6 separate regions of the Homo sapiens genome follow, and regions 1, 2, 3, 4 and 6 are each linked to region 5. The links are contacts of gene promoters, found by promoter capture Hi-C in blood cells and fetal thymus (Javierre and others, 2016). All regions are on one chromosome and are shown on one strand. The core of a region is centred on a gene start or on the middle of the fragment in contact, and the rest is flanking DNA. Distances in the headings are between cores, read along the strand shown.

Region 1 (2,700 bases), core at 157-2,656, 500 kb before region 5:
GTGTAGCAGCCTAGAACAATAGTAAATAATTATTATTTCTCATAATTTTTGTGGGTCAAAAATTTGGAAGCAGCTTAGCTGCATGGCTATAGGTTAGGGTCTCTCAGGAGGTGGCTTGATGAAGGCTGGAGGATCCACTTACAAGGTAGTCTCTCACCAGATGCCAAGTTATTACTAGTTGCAGGCAAGAAGCCTCAGTTCATCACCAAAAGACTTCTCCCAATGGCTGAATGTCCCCACAGCATGGAAGCTCTGGCTTCCACCAGAGCAAGGATCCAAAACAGAACCAGGTGGAAATTGCAGTGTCATTTACAACCCAGCCTCAAAGTCACAAACCATTATTTTTATGAATGTATTGTGTCAGTGACACAGGTCAGTTTTATTCCAAGTGGGAAGGGGCCATACAAGGGCATGGACCTCAGATGCAAGAATCACCAGAGCCTTCTGGGAGGCTGCCTACCCTATGATTCATGTTGCACATGCAAAACTGCTCACTCTCTGCGCAGGCCCCCAAAACCTCATCCCGTTATAGCATCAGTTATACATCCAAGAGCTCATTATCTAAATCAGATGCAGACAAGTCTCCTTAGGCCTGGTTCCTTGAATACAACCTCTCCAAATCAGTTTATCTAAAACTGAAGACACCAGTTATCTCCCTCCACACACCCAACAAACAAACAATAGTTGGGCAAGAGTAGGATGACTACTTTAGACACATGTCCTCAATAAAGGGGGAAATGGAGGCATATAGGAGTCACTGATTAAGGGCAATTCTGAAATCCAGCCAGGCTCTCGATGAAAGTTCATTAAGAATCCACTCCATTCCTACCCAAGAATTATTCTCCATGGCTCTTGACTCCATCTTCTGATCTCTTGATTCTACTGTTTTAGTCATTCTTCCTTTTCCACGAAGGCAGCATATTTTTGTAGCTGATTACTCTTTGTGGTCTGTTTCCCGTCTTCAGAAGTTTAGGTGTCCAAAGACCCCTTTCCACTTTATACTTTCTCCTTTCTATGTAAGCTTGGCAGTGTTTCTGCCCAATACAACTTGAGTCAAAACTTTGCAGGTCACTAATAAATCAGTTTCTTACCATGTGGACCTATTGATAGAGCTTCTCTGTTGACCTTGCCAGATAGCAGCTAGCTTCCCCTAGAGCAGGTGATTTAAAAGAGCAAGGAGGAAGGCACAGGTTTCAGAACTCAGTCTTATTCAGTGTTTGATGTTATACAAGGTCATGGACATCAGAAAGTAGAGATTAGGGGAGCCATTTTAGGGGATGGCTTTACATTGGGCTAGGGTTTATGAGGCAAGTTAATAATATTTAATATCTATTATGAAATAGATGTTTGTGTTCCCACCCCCAAATTTGTATGTTGAAGTGCTAACACTTAATGTGACTATATTTGGAGATAGGGCTTGTGATGAGGTGGTAAACGTTAGATGAGGTCACAAGAACCTAAAGTCAGAAGATGCATTAGTCTGATAGGGCTGGTGCCCTTATAAGAGGAGGAAGATACAAGATGGGCTCACTATCTCTCTCTCTTGCACTCTTCACCATGTGAGGACACAAAGAAAAGGTGGATGCCTGCAAGCCTGAAAGAGAGCCTTCACTAGGAAACGAACTGGCTGGCACTTTGATCTTGGATTTTTCAGCACCAGAACTATGAGAAAATTAATTTTCATTGTTTAACCACCCAGTCTGTGGTACTTTGTTATGGCAGACTGAGTTAGTGGAATATGATGTCTTTTTATTGCATTATCTGTATAACTTTTGAATGCCCCAAGCTTTCCAAGATCACTCCAATATGCTGTTAATTTTATTCTTTTTGATAAAAATTAATTAATTAACTAAAAATAATGTATTGTTGTACTCTTTAAGAGTACACACTAAGAGTGACATCATAAATCAAAGAGTCTTTTGCCAACCATGGGTCCTGATTTTTATTCCAGAAGAGAAGATCACCGCCATTTATATATGTCCTTTCCAATCAGAAAGCAACCTATCCAACTGAACCATGGAGTTATGTTACAGGAAGTACAGTATTACTCCAGTAGATCTGAAGCTCTCCCTAGGCAGAGCTGCCACTCATCACTGCATAGCTTATGCACTGTTCAACCCTAGGGGGCTCCATTTAATTAGGGTGTATCTGAATATCACCTGGTAGAGTTTATACAAGTGACATCTTCTAAATTTGAGCAGAGCACTACCTGCATAACCATATGCAGAGGTCTTAAACCCAATATGAGAACCTGTGCTTGCTTTCAGTAAAGCCAACCAGATAACACTGCTCAGCCTTGAGCCTTACCAGCTGCAGGCAGCTTTTATCTTCAGAAGAAAATGTCATCTCTCCATTCAATTCTCCACAGATGAGGCCACTAAGCTATAGTTAGAGAGAAGACTTCAGGGTTCTCCTACCCACCTAATTCTAGCTAGAGCTAGAAAGATCTGTCTTCTGAAGCAGCTAAGACTGACTTTTTGGAGCACTGGCCGATCTCTTGTTTTGCTGGTAGAGTTGCTGAAAGACTTACAGTTGAGCCTGAGCACAAGAATTTGCCAGCTATGGGGGCTCCCCTTTCATGCTCTTAACTTCTTCCTCCTACAGGTCCATCTGTCTTTCATTACCTAGAGGTCCACAACACTCTTTATTCACACAATCTCTGAAAAAGATGCAGAGGAACTTGCACGCCCCTGGAGATGA
Region 2 (2,700 bases), core at 155-2,654, 360 kb before region 5:
CTTCAAAAAGCTTAAGGACTTTTAAAGAAAACCAATCATGTGAAAAATAAGGAAGGCACCCTGTGTAGCCCCAGAAGGCTGATGGGAGTAAATTACATGGTGAAGATATCAGCTTAATATAGGAGGACTTGTCTTAATGATCAGAGCTGCCCAACACAGCGGCTGAAAACTACAGCCAGCCGGCCAATCTGCCCTGCCACGTATTTTTGTTGGTGTAGAGAGCTAAGAATGATTTTAATATTTTGTAATGGTTGGGAAAAAGCAAAGGAAGAATAATATTTTACAGCACATAAAAATTATACGGAATTCAAATTTCAGTGTCCATAAGTAATGTTTTCTGAGAACACACCTACATCCATTTGCTTACATGTTATTTATGGCAGCTTTGCACTATAATTGCAGAGTTGAGTACTTGTGACGGAAGCCATACCATCTGAAAAGCCTGAAATATATTTACAATCTGACCCTTTCCTGAAAGTTTGTTAACCTCTTTTCTTAGCAGTGGTTCTCAGAATCACCTGGAAGCTGGTTAAAACCCAGTTTGCTGGACCCACCCTCAGAATCCCTAACTCAGCAGCTTTGAAGTGGGCCAAGAATTTGCACCAAGTCTCCAAGGGATGCTGGTGCCTTTGATCCAGGGACCACACTGCTCAAGAGGCACTCATCACAGGAGTAGTCAACTCATCTCCATGGAGCATGTGTTCCCCGCAAGCCCATACTCTTCCTGAGGGTAGGAACTTCAATTCTGTTTTTTTCCACAATGGGACAATGCTGGAGACTTCCTAAGTATTTGTTGAATGAATTAACGAATCTGTTAATTATTTTGACTTTTTGATCTTTGGGGACTTTCTAATTTCCTCTGATTGCAGGGGAAGTGCTCTAGGAAGGAAGATCCAAAGGAAAGGAGAAAGGAAAAAAGAGAAGAAAAGAAGGGGGAAAGGGAAGGAGCTCTCTTCACAAAACAAGACTTTTTGGTAGTGCCTAGGGGTATCCTTGTGCCTCTGCTTCAGTGTTCAAAGGTATATAATATTCTCTTCGGCTTTCCCAGTCACTTTGAATGAGGGAGATTGTAGGCAGGAGGGTAGACTGCATATAACACTCCTCATTCCAAGGACCCATCCCATGGCATAATGATGCTTTGTGTCTCCATAATGACCTTTGGATTCTGAAGGTATTATATATGCATATCTAATTTTAATGATCTGATGTATTTCTCCCAATCTTTTTTGTAGACATTTTATTTTTGTATTAAGATTGTGTTCCACGGATAATTTTATGTCCTTTTAAATTTAACATTCACTCAAAATATTTTTCCTATGACATTATAAATTCTATATAATATCCTTTTTATACAGAATATTGTCTCATGTGTACATACCATAATCAATTTAGCTATACCCCTACTGTTAGATATCTATGTTTCTCCTGCTACTCATGCTTTTCCTGGTTGTTTTGCTATTATAATCTTCATTGCCTTGTGAACCATTATTAGTCAATTCTCCTTCTGATTTTGAAAATTATTCTTTAGAATAGAGTTTCACAAAAAAAGGCTATCAAAAAGACATAGAAGAAATAAAATGTTAAAGTCATAAGGGACTACCTTGCTGCAACTCTGTACAAGTAAATAAGAAAAAAATAGATAAAATAGGTATTATGGAAAAAACACAACTTACCAAAAATAATACTTACAAAGACAGAAAGTTTGAACTAACCATTTTTCTTAGAGAAAATAATGAATGCTAAAGAACTCCCCTACAATAAAAGCACCAGCCCTGAATATTTTTTCATAGGAATTCTATCACATTTGCAAAAATCAAGAATCCCAACTGCTCCTGAAACTATGTTACAGCACAGAAAAGCAAAGAAAATCCTCCAGTTCTTTTCTATAAAGAATGTGTCATTAAAACCAAAAACTAACTGCATCAAAAAAAGAAGACAGATCAATCTTACTAAAGAATATCAAAGAGTGCCAGGTGCAGTGGCAGGTACCTGTTGTCCCAGCTACTCAGGAGGCTGATGTGAGAGGATCACTTGAGCCCAGAGATAGTGCACTGTAAACGTACTTGTGAATAGCCACTGCACTCCAGTCTGGAAAATGTAATGAGACCTCATATCTTCAAAAAGTATATACATATATCAAATAAAGCATTAGTAAACAGAATCTGTCAGCATAAACAAATAAACAACTAAAAAGCAAAAAACAACAGTGGTTTTCCTGGCATGTTGCATCCAGGAATGCAAAGATGGTTCAACACTAGGAAATCTCTTAATAGAACCCATCATTATAGCTAAGGAGGGAAAAAAATGACATACTTATCTTCCATTTACTAACTATATCTCAAATTCACCACTCATCTATGTAAAAATTATTCAACAAAATAAGAGCTGACAGTTAATGCTGCATGATTATATTATGATTGCACACACACATACGTAAATGTCAACTCAAAAGCCAGCATCCTACTTAATAGTGAACTAAGAAACACTAGAGGCTTTATCTCTAAACTTAGAAACAACACAAGATATCTAAAATCTCTATTAGTTTTTACCACTGTTTCAGTAATTAACCAATGTAAATAGACAAAAACAATGAAACTAGAGGTTAAGAATTGAATAATAAAAATAAGACTTTATCATTTAGGTTGAGAACCAAAAGAATCAACTTAAAACTACTGTGAACCATGAGAATTTAGTAATTAA
Region 3 (2,700 bases), core at 132-2,631, 300 kb before region 5:
GTCTTTCCCTTGGAGCTTGGACTGGATTTCAGCCCCCATGTGCCTCCTCAGGTGTGTGCAATGCCAAAATTGCACCATTCTGGGTTGCTGCCCTGTTGGAGAGACCAGTGACTGCAGGGGTCCCCAGACATGCTGCCATAGAGATCTGGGAAGATTCTTCGTAAATACAGTCTCCTCCAGAAATGCGGATTTACTCACTCACTCGCTCATTCATTCATTCATTCCTTCATTCTGCTGCTGCTGCTGCTGCTGCTGCTGCTGCTGCTGCTGCTGCTGCTGTTGTAGCTTGTTGTTGTTGCTCTGTCTCTGATGCCCACATGATTCCGGTGATCGGTCAGATCTGGGAATGGCTGGGCTGAATGACCTCTGTGAATGCTTTCAATTTCAACATCTTGATTGTTGTTGACACATTGTGGGGACCTCACAGCTCCTCAGAAAGAGGATTTCATTTAGAATCTGACACATCGCTTCTTCTTTTAGCAAAAGTCAATAAAAGCTTTTCAAAGAAAAACTCTCCAAAGCAATACAATTTGAGAGACAAAAACAAAAAAGAGAGAGCTCATTGATTTAAACCAACTTGGAACCCTAGCAAAGATCAGTTCACGGCAAATCAAATCAATTGTTGACAGAATGATGCCAAATACTCATATTTTTAGGGTCTTTTAGATAAAAAGGAAAAGACATTACTTAGACATTTAGTAACTTCTTGTCATATATCCAAAGTCCAACAGGTAAGGAGAGATCTTGATGAATGGCTGCTTTCTTCCCATATACTCTGCAAATGTACAAGGCTCATAACATACAACTGTAGCCAGGGAATGTTACCACTCTGCAAACCAAAACCTAGTTCTAGAGACAGGGGTGGGGGCACAGGCCTGTAATCTCAGCTACTCTGGAGGCTGAGGCAGTAGAATCACCTGGGCAACATAGCAAACCTCAACTCTGGAAAAAAAAAATTAGTGAAACTTATCTCTGGAAAAAAAAAAAAAGGAAAGGAAAAAGAATTTTTTTTTTAATGAAGTGAAAGTTGATTCTCGCCTCCAACTATTTTTTTAAGCCATCTTTGTTCAAGGCCAGCGTCCAAGAGGACAGGCAAGACATTCCCCAGGAATGAAAGGAGAGGGAAGAAGGAGGACAAAAAAAGGAGGTAAATCCAAGTTCCTAGAAGGCCTGCGTTTGATCACACGATACCTATTTTCAGTAACCTTGGGGGCTGCAGATTCCTCAGCCAGGCTGCCTGCCCTCAGGAATTCGACCTGCTCCCGCGAGCTCACCTTCTTCTGCTCTGGTCATGCCAACACCCTCACTCACTGCCTTGGCCCCATGGGATGCCCATTCACCCCTACCTGTGGAGCTTGTTTATAAAGGGCTTAGGAGGTTGAAATATTACCTCTGCCTATTACTAGCCATACCATCCTTTGCTTACATTTTTCTCATCTGTATAATGGGGATCATAAATGTTCCTATTTCAAAGAGAGATAATAAATGTGAGAATTAAATGGGCAAATGCAAGCAAAGCATGAGAACAGGACAGTGTGCATAGTGAGTGTGAGGCGAATGCATGCTCTGGTTATTTTAAATCGCATGATGTTCATGTTTGAAGCCACCCTCCCCACGCTGGCTTTTTTCATCACATGTCTCACTGCGTGGGAATTTTTCCATGACTGTTGCCTGCTCTAGGTGATGTGTTCCCTGTGGGAAGGGTCCACTTAAATATAAATCCCCAGAACTAACACAAGGGTTGGCCCAAAGAGCACTTAACAAATGTTGAGGGAATAAATGAATCAACAGAAAGTCAGTGGTTTAAGGCATTTAGACAACTATGTGAATCTCACAACTACCCCGTGAGATTAGATAAGCAATTATTATCCTTCCCATTTTATGGTTTGAGCAACTAAGGCCCTGAGAGATTAAATGATTTGTTTAAGGCCGGGCAAGGTGGCTGATGCTTGTAATCCCAGCACTTTGGGAAGCCGAGACAGGCGGATCACTTGAGCCCAGGAGTTTGAGACCAGCCTGGGCAATATGACTAAACCCCATCTCTACTAAAAATACAAAAATTAGCCAGGTGTCATGGCACATGCCTGTAGTCCCAGCTACTTGGGAGGCTGAGATGGGAGAATTGCTTGAGCCTGGGAGCCAGAGGTGGCAGTGAGCCTCAATCATGCCACTGCACTCAGCCTGAATAACAGAGCCAGACCCTGTTTCAAAAAAAGAGAAAGATCTCTTTAAAGTCCCATGGGTAATAAAGGGGAAATAAGCTTCCTGTGCATTGTCTGACACCATGAGGTTTTTTGCAGGTCTGACTCCATATTCTTACTGATGGGGAGATATGGATAGTCTTAGAAAGAAGTGCTTTAACTAACTCTTAATGTTAGTGAAGCATTTTCTAGATGGAGAACATAAATAATGATACTCTAGGTGAAGGATGCCGTATGGTCATAGGCAATGGCAAGCATGCAGGGGGAATACAACACTTTTGTACGAGATTCCAAGTTTCTTGAGGCCAGGGGCTTCATTGTTCCCCCAATGATTACCACCACAGAGCTCAAGTGTCTGGCACAGAGCAAGCAAGCAATTGCCTGTTGAAAGAATGGATGGATGGGTGGGTGGATGGATGGATGGATAGATGGATGGATGGTTAAATGGGAGGATGGATGAATGGATGGATAGATGGATAAATGGGAGGATAGATGGATG
Region 4 (2,700 bases), core at 111-2,610, 480 kb before region 5:
TCAAAGGAATCATTCATATTCAATTCAAAACAGTGCTTTTCAAATGTCAGGAAGTTGGAAGCTACTCCTTTATTCACAATTTCCATGTAGTTTAGAAAAAAAAAAGTATTTGTCTTCTATTATTTCTTATTCTTCCCTATGTAATTAGAGGAAGGCTATAAAGTCTTATTAAGACAATCTCTAGACTTTTTAAATTACATGAACAATATAAAGCAAATAGGCCCTTTTAGGGAGAGGGATTTTTTTAAAGATTTGCATTTCCAGCAGAGCCATGAGTAACAGAGCCAGTGTCAAGGAGAGTGGATGCCACCAGCGTTCAATGAAGAAATTGTATGATCTGCCATTTAGCAATTTCACTTCTGTGTCTTTTTTCTCTTCCCTAAACCTACACCCCCAACTCAGTTTCTTTTTTTTTCCTCTGTTGCTGATCCAGATGCTCCAAAGAAATCAATATTTGTTGATTTTAGGACACAGGCAGTAAATCTGGAGTATTTTCAGCTTGAAGGTGTTTCTCTCTAACCCTGCTGAATAACATGGTGACTTTGCTACTCAGAGTTTAGGTGAGGCAACATGTGACTCCAAGGCATGTCTGTAAAAATGTCCATGGAGCAAGAAGGAGACTCATAACGTTGCTTTTTCAAAGTGCAATAAAACACCCAAATCTACCAAGAGCTAGTGGGCCCTTGCACATGACAATTAAACATTAACAGCCCCAGGGCCCTGGGAGCAGGGCCCAGCAACCCTTTGAAGCCCTGTTTGCCAATTAAACACCGTCTGACATTCGAGTCAAGGTGGCAGGGATCCAAAGCAGAGATAGGAACGTCAACCACTTCAGGGGCATTCATTAGCTCCCCAGACATTCCTGGCGTGGCCTGTTTCTTTACTATTGCCAAATCCACACCCTGCTCTGGAACTCAGGGGCTCTGAGAAAGTTTACTCAGATAAGCTTATTATGGAAATAGCACTTTGTCACCGTTTACTACTCACTCCTTGTTCAATTATCTTTTATCTGTTTAGAGTATTTGCCAGCTCTCCCAAGGTTCCCTGGGATGAGGCCACTGGATTGAAAGTCCTCACTGGGGCTGTAGAAGGGGTAGGGGGAGGTACCACTCTGTGCTTGCCTTTCTGGTCCAAGAATGCTGAGCTCTCTCCAGCATTTTGGAAACTGCTAAGAGGGTACTAGTAAAAGATCTTGTATTTTCTGATCATGGGAAAAACTGCCCAACCTTGAGACAGAGACCTAGGTATCCTGAGGCCCCACAGTCAGCAGAAAGAAGGATGGTGTGTCATTTTGATTATAATAGTGAGCATTTAATGCATATTACTAGGGCAGAATGATGAGCAGGGAATTTCACCTACTCCCTACCACCATTCATATTAGACGCTCTCTCTCCGAATTTATGCATAGCTTTGGAACCAATATAATTGAGGTTTTTGTTGGTGAGCCTCAGTCAAATCCCAGTCGCCACCATCACCACGGTTCCTATTGAGTCATCTGGTCTATTATCGTTGTGGAGTACCATTTTTGTATTTTAATGCCTTCAGATTGAATGACTTCTCTATGGTGAACTCATCCCAGATGTCAGGATGCATGTTGCATTTTTGCTGCTGTGATGGTTTTAAAATATGCCCATAAGTTCTTTGATACTCCTCCCATCAAAAGGTAGAGATTAATTACCTTTCCTCTGAGTATGAGCTGAAATTACTGACTCACTTCTAACCAACAGAATGTAGTGGCATCCAAATTTAGGTAATACAGGTCATTGAAGCTTCTGTCCTGCTCTTTCTCTCTTATTGCTGGCTCTAGTGGAAGCCACTACCAAGCCATAAGGAAATGCAAGAAGCCCTGTGGAGAGGTCCCTGTGGAGAGGTTCACATGGGGAAGAACTGAGGCCTTCTGCCAAAGTCCATGCAACCGAGCTTAGATGCAGATCCTGCAGCCCCACACAAGCCTTAGATGGTTTGTCCCAGTTGACAGCTTCAGTGCAATCTCAGCAGAGTCAGGACCACTCAGCTGATCTGCTCCCAAATTTGGGATAATTTGTTACGCAGCAATAGATAACTAATATACCTGCCTCAACTAATTGCCAAGGAACTGCAAAAGGATCCCAGGCAAGAGTCACCAGACCTTGTTGTTTACAGGCTGTGTGACCTTGGAAGATTTACTCACCTGCTCTGGACTTCAGATTTCTCTGTTGATACTTGCTGTTCTAGTTGATGTGAGAGTCAGTGAAGTGTTTTTGAGAAATTAAGAGTTCTCTGATATCATAATTGTATTGTTGTCCAGAATATCTTCTTCTGCAGTGATTCCCCCTCTTGCTTTCATGCTTCAGCTAAATTAACCATTTCTCCTCAAAAGAGGCAGCTTCACTTTTGCCCTGTGTAGAATGTCCTCTCCCTATTCTAATTATCTAAAAAATGAAATATCTCTGTGCATAATGTGCTCAGCTGTTCACCTGCAGCACAATGTCTTTCTGTTCATTCTTCCTTCTAACAGAACCCAGATCACTTTCAGAAAGTCACCTGCTCCCAAGCTACTCCTTATCCCCAGTTCTAAGAGGAAACTTTGATCGATTCAAGCCAATCAGAGTTATCTCCCTCCCTTTGTCAGTGACTGGTTTAGTATCTGTCATGTAATGCAATTCTGGCCAATGCTCTGGGGGAATTCTGGGAATGTTTTTCTTGCTTCAGAGAATGAGA
Region 5 (2,700 bases), core at 7-2,506:
TGTGCCTCTCGCTCCCTCCCTCCCGCCCTCCTTTTGTGTACAAGCTGTCTACGACAGGGGGTGGGAGGGGGCATGCAGATGCAGGGGGTGGTGGCGAGGCTCCGCAACTTTGGAAACTGCCATTTCATTCACACAAGGCACTGCCTGGGGGAGGGGGCTGTTCCTGGCTGCAGAATTCTAGCTCTCACGAGCACGCAGACAACCGCACTCGCAGCGGTGTGGGGCCGGCTGCTCAGGGGAAGCCCCAGGCTCTCCGACCCAGCTACCGGGAATGGTATTTGGAGTACCTTCTACCCCCTTTGTAAAAATGCAACCTCAGGAGTGCAAATGATAGCAGGGGATTTAGAAAACTTTGCAAATAAAAAAAAGCCTTTCTCTAGACAGAGACCAACAACAGACACCCATATCCACAAATCCTTCCCCTCCCCAAATTTGAGCAAACGCCCCTCGGCATTCACCCGCTGCAGGGATACTCCTGCCAATAGCTTAATTGGAAGCTCTCTAAGCCCACCCCTGCTCTTCCAAACCCACGACAACGTCCTCTTCCAGGGAGGGAGAGGCTGAGCCCCTGTTCCCGGGAATGGCAGGGGCGCCCGCGCGAGGAGGGTCGCCGGGAGAGCCGCCTCTCCTCCAAGCTGGAGCAGCCGTGACCCAGATTGCGACCGCGGCGGCCTCGCCCTGCCTAATCCCCCCCTCTTCTTCCTCCAGGGGCACCCTTTGGAGAAGAACCCCAGCCTGGGGTGGGGACGCACCGGCTCTCCGACAGCTCAAACACAGACAGATCTTCTAGAGCCGAGGGAATTTCTTTTCGCAGAAGCCATTACTCCCCCCGGTAAGGGCTGCAAAAGGATTAGGGCGGGTCTCCTCTAGCCAGGATGCCTTCGGGGCTGGAACTGGCTTTTCTGGGAAAACCCAGAGATGGTTTTGTTTCGGAAGCAGAAACAGTCCCCCGGGCATATTAGGGCGCCCGGTGCGCACGTCGCAATCCCGTCCAGGGCTTGCCTTGCCCCGGCGCTCGTCGCTTCCCTGGGCGCCGGGCGGTTTGCAAGCCCTGCTCCTTACCTCCCGCCGACTGCAGGGGATCCGGAGGCGATTCTGCGCGGGTGTCTCCGGGTGGGCCGGGGGGGCGGGGGTGTCCTCGGATGGCTACAGTCTGTGCGCGCTTGCGCCTGGCTAGCGCTTGCTCGGCTCCAACACAGTTCCCAGGAGCCCCCCGCATCCACCCAGCGCGTCCAGACAGATGACTGTCACAGCCTGCGCTTTGAAGCTCGGGGGATATTATTAACTGAAAAATCTGACACACCCGGGGGGCGGGGAGAGAAGGGGGCTGTGGCGCAGACAAGGGGGAGGGAGAAAGGAGAGGAAAGCGGCTTTACCCCGCCCTCCTGATTTCCATAAAAATCAGGGGAGGCGCCAAGGCTTTCGCGCCAAAAGCCACTTGCTTTTCTTTGCAGAGAGAAGGCTGCAAAGCTGGGAAGCCCAGGGTGTGCTCCTCCCGCCCTTTTGGACCCCCGGGCTTGCACCGGCTGCACTCTGAGAACCAGCTGCGCGCGGAGCGGTGCAATGCAGCACCCACCCTGCGAGCCTGGCAATTGCTTGTCATTAAAAGAAAAAAAAATTACGGAGGGCTCCGGGGGTGTGTGTTGGGGAGGGGAGACCGATGCTTCTAACCCAGCCCCCGCTTTGACTGCGTGTTGTGCAGCTGAGCGCGAGGCCAACGTTGAGCAAGGCCTTGCAGGGAGGTTGCTCCTGTGTAATTACGAAAGAAGGCTAGTCCGAAGGTGCAAAATAGCAGGGAGAGGACGCGCCCCCTTAGGAACAAGACCTCTGGATGTTTCCAGTTTCAAATTGAAAGAAGAGGGGCGCCCCCCTTGTTTGAAAATAAATAAATAAATAAGTGCGAGCTACGAGGGTGGCGCCGCGGTGGTTTCTTCGGCCGAAGGCGACACCTCGCGGAGACTGAGCAGAAAGCGGAGCTGCCCGGCCTTGGCGCGGACCTGGAGTGCGGCCACTCCGCAGGTCTCCCGCCGCCCCCGCGGGACTGTCCACGCGTCCTCACCACTGCGGAGGAGGAGGCGGCCTGGCTCTGCTTCCTAGGGGGAATGGGCGTACGTTCCCTGCAGCCGTCCCCAGGGCTCCCAAGTTAACCTTTTCAAAGCCACCATTCTCCCCAGTTATGGGCAGGCGAATCTGATTTACCGAGATGGAAGTGCTGTCCACACCTCCTGAGACCCAGCCTCGGCTCAAACAGCTTGATTCCAAACTGTTGAAGGGAAAAAGGAAAGCTGCTGTCACTACTTCGTTTCTTTGTGCCTCAGTTTCCTCAATTGTGAAATGGAGTTCGTAGTGCCTCCTACCTGAGAGTTATGAAAGCTCTTATAAGTCCCCAGCCCATAATAGTTGTGTCAGCTATTATTATGATGATGACCACGACATGCTATTCTTCTGGGGAAAATAACACCCCTCTGTCCAGCAGCAGCATTGGCCCCTTCCCTTCCCGCCACCATCAAATCCTGGCTTTACTTCACTCTGGTCTAGCTTTTCTTACAGGTGTATTTGTTTGCAGGGGGTCAGACATTATTGCCCCTGCCCTCCAAACTCTCCAAAAACAACCCTGATCTCCTGGACAGCCCCCTTCACAACCAAATACACAGTGAGGTGGGATTTTGCCTTGAAAAACATTCCTTAGGCTTGTTTGGA
Region 6 (2,700 bases), core at 32-2,531, 400 kb before region 5:
TTTGTGCCTCCTGTATCCAGATGTCTAATTTTTAAATAAACTTGGGAAGTTTTCATGTATTGTTTCATTAAATATGTTTTCTTACCCTTTCATTTTCTTTTTGTCTTCTGGGCCAAAAATTCAAATATGTGGTCATTTTACAGTGTCCCATATATAAATTTAAGCTTTGCTCATTCTTATGTACTCATTTTTATCTGACTGGATTTTGCAAAAAACCTATCTTCTAGTTCTAAGATTCTTTCTTCTGCTTGATCTAGTCTATTGTTGCAGCTCTTGAATGTATTTTGTATTTAAATTAATTAATTTTTTATGTACAGAATTTCTATTTGGTTATTTTTTATAATATCTATCTCTTTGGTAAATTTCTCATTCATATCATGAATTGCTTTTCTGACTTTTTTGTATTGCTTTTCAGATTTCATAAATTTCTTTTTGATTGTTATCTGTTGCTAGAGAATTCTTGTGTTCCTTTGGAGGTGTCATAGTTCCTTGTTTTTTTATGTTTCCTGTGTCCTTATGTTGATATCTGCACATCTAGCATAACAGTCTCTTCTTCCAATTTTTTAATTTGATTTTTTGGGGAAGGACATTTTCCTGAAGATGTATCTGTGGAGTTGGTTGAGTATGGTACTTTGGCTTTGATTCTGGGATTGTGCAGTAGTGTAGTCTCTGTATGATTTCTTTGGCTAAAAACAGCATCAGTGGTATCTGTGATTTCCTCAGTGGCTTAGGGTGCAGTTGTTAGTGGAGGCAGTGGTGAAGTTCTGCTGGGGACTGAGACACCATGTGGGCCAGTCTTCAGGGCCCATTGATGGCAGCAGCAGGCTGAGCATGCCTATCCTTGGGCACCAGGGTTGTATATGCTGGCATGTGTTAGCCAGTCCAGGAAGTCTGATTATTGGCCTTCAAGGTGGCTTGCTCAGGTGCCAGGAATGACAGTGGTGGGCTGGGCAGGTGGATTATTGAGCCCCTGGGCAGCAGGTGTGGCATGGGCAATCACAGTAGCAGTGGTGGGACAATCTTTGGGACCCAAGAGATCCCTGCTGTTTTTGATGATGGCTACAATGGGCTGGATGGGCCAGTCCCCAGGTCTGCAGGTGGCACATGCAGATGAGTGGCAGCTGTGGTGGTAGTAACAGGTTCAGGGGGTTCAACCTCAAATACCAGAAGGACTGCTCAGGTGTCAACAGTGGTAGGCTAGATTGGGTGATACCCACCCCCCTGGATGGTGTGCTCAGGTACTCAAGTTTCAGTCTTTGAGGATGAACCTCCTACAGTCATGTGTTGCTTAACAACAGGAATATGGTCTGATAAATGCATCGTTAGATGATTTCATTGTTGTGCAAACATCACACTTACACAAACCTAGGATGGTGTAGCCTACTATGAACCTAGGCTATGTGGTATAGCCTATTGCTCCTAGGCTACAAGCCTGGACAGCATGTTACTGTACTGAGTACGGTAGGCAATTATAACATTATGGTAATTATTTGTGTACCTAAACATATCTGAACATGGGAAAGGTACAGTAAAATATAGTACAAAAGATTTTTTTTTAATGGTACATTTATATAGGGCGCTTACCACGAATAGAGTTTGCAGGACTGAAAGTTGGTCTGGGTGAGTCAATGAGTGAGGGGTGAGTGAATGTGAAGGCCTAAGATATTACTGTATAGACTTTATAAACACAGTACACTTAGGCTACACTAAATTTATGAGAAAAATAAAGTAATTGCACAATGACGTGGTGGGAACAGGGAATAAGAATTTTTCAGCTCTATTATAATCTTATGGGACCACCATTATATAAGTGGTCCATCGTTGATGGAAATATCCTCATGTGGGGCATGACTATGATTTGTAAAGCAACTGATAACTGTTGGAAGATAGCGAGTGGAGAGAACCGTTTTCCAAACTGCCCCTTACCCATCGCAGTCAGCCCCTAACACAGGCCCCCACTAATTCTTTTGAGCCTGTTGACAGCCGACTCCTTAATGCTTGTGTCTATCTCTGACATCCATTGTGCGCTCCCCGCTAACATACTTACAGCTCCATGGCAAGGTGAGATCAGAGCTGTCCAGAGGAGATTAGTAAAGCAGACAGGAGGACAGGTTAAGCTGCCCCTGACCTCTTATCCCACTCCCGGCACCCAGACCCCACCCCGTAGTTTGCTCTTGGGTGTGCAGAGGTGCTCTCTCCTCTTCCCTTCTGTTGTGCTTTCCCCAAATGACCAAGCAGACCTATTTTATCAATATTGAAAATCAAGCAAGTTGCACTCTACAGATGCCCTCTCTGGCTGGGGATCTTTCTCTGATGAAGTTTGGTGTGGCTGCCAAGTATGGAGAGTGCAGAAGAGGCCACAGATACTGCTTCATGAGCTCAACAAGACCTAAGCTTTTGAACAGTGCTTTGCAGCACCAGAGAAGCTTTAGGTACATAATGAGATTCTCTCTGCCTGGCTTCTTGAAAATCCCAAGCATAAGTATTGCAAGTCAGCGTGGTTCTGCAGGAAGAGTATGGGTTAGAAGGTAGGAAGCCTGGGCCCTGCATGGCACCAGGGATGACAAGTCCCATTCCCTTTAGATTTTAGTTTCCTCATCTATGGCATCCCATGCCTAGATGCATCTTTAAGGCTCCACTCCTTTTAGCATCCTGTGTTTCTAAGAAGAGTCTTTGAGAAAACTGAGATGTACACTGGGA

Evidence for each region. The method cuts DNA at HindIII sites, captures the fragments that hold promoters and counts their contacts. A CHiCAGO score of 5 or more calls a contact.
Region 1: a fragment that was not itself captured here is called in contact with the fragment with the promoter of MYCN in region 5 in 1 of 17 cell types (M1 macrophages); the score reaches 5.9 in M1 macrophages.
Region 2: a fragment that was not itself captured here is called in contact with the fragment with the promoter of MYCN in region 5 in 3 of 17 cell types (M0 macrophages, megakaryocytes and M1 macrophages); the score reaches 7.8 in M0 macrophages.
Region 3: a fragment that was not itself captured here is called in contact with the fragment with the promoter of MYCN in region 5 in 2 of 17 cell types (M2 macrophages and M0 macrophages); the score reaches 7.2 in M2 macrophages.
Region 4: a contact is called between a fragment that was not itself captured here and the fragment with the promoter of MYCN in region 5, in 1 of 17 cell types (M1 macrophages). The highest score is 5.2, in M1 macrophages.
Region 6: a fragment that was not itself captured here is called in contact with the fragment with the promoter of MYCN in region 5 in 1 of 17 cell types (activated CD4 T cells); the score reaches 5.7 in activated CD4 T cells.

The regions. Positions count from the first base shown.
Region 1 is chr2:16,442,598-16,445,297 of GRCh38, reverse strand. No RefSeq gene overlaps it. Among named protein-coding and RNA genes, the nearest start is that of CYRIA, 220 kb to the left of the region's middle. The HindIII fragment of the contact is 765 bases long and covers 1,024-1,788 here.
Region 2 is chr2:16,300,090-16,302,789 of GRCh38, reverse strand. No RefSeq gene overlaps it. Among named protein-coding and RNA genes, the nearest start is that of GACAT3, 250 kb to the right of the region's middle. The HindIII fragment of the contact is 2,783 bases long and covers 13-2,700 here.
Region 3 is chr2:16,237,116-16,239,815 of GRCh38, reverse strand. No RefSeq gene overlaps it. Among named protein-coding and RNA genes, the nearest start is that of GACAT3, 190 kb to the right of the region's middle. The HindIII fragment of the contact is 1,765 bases long and covers 499-2,263 here.
Region 4 is chr2:16,424,001-16,426,700 of GRCh38, reverse strand. The region is part of intron 2 of LOC107985855 (a long non-coding RNA gene); the gene reads right to left. Among named protein-coding and RNA genes, the nearest start is that of CYRIA, 240 kb to the left of the region's middle. The HindIII fragment of the contact is 823 bases long and covers 949-1,771 here.
Region 5 is chr2:15,939,106-15,941,805 of GRCh38, reverse strand. It overlaps MYCN (MYCN proto-oncogene, bHLH transcription factor), which reads right to left and starts at 1,256. Exons shown (of 3, transcript NM_005378.6): 1 at 1,063-1,256. MYCNOS (MYCN opposite strand) reads left to right here and starts at 121. Exons shown (of 4, transcript NR_110230.2): 1 at 121-274; 2 at 709-832. RefSeq lists an enhancer at 1,128-1,658. The HindIII fragment of the contact is 19,196 bases long and covers 1-2,700 here.
Region 6 is chr2:16,336,513-16,339,212 of GRCh38, reverse strand. No RefSeq gene overlaps it. Among named protein-coding and RNA genes, the nearest start is that of GACAT3, 290 kb to the right of the region's middle. RefSeq lists a silencer at 848-1,011. The HindIII fragment of the contact is 2,230 bases long and covers 167-2,396 here.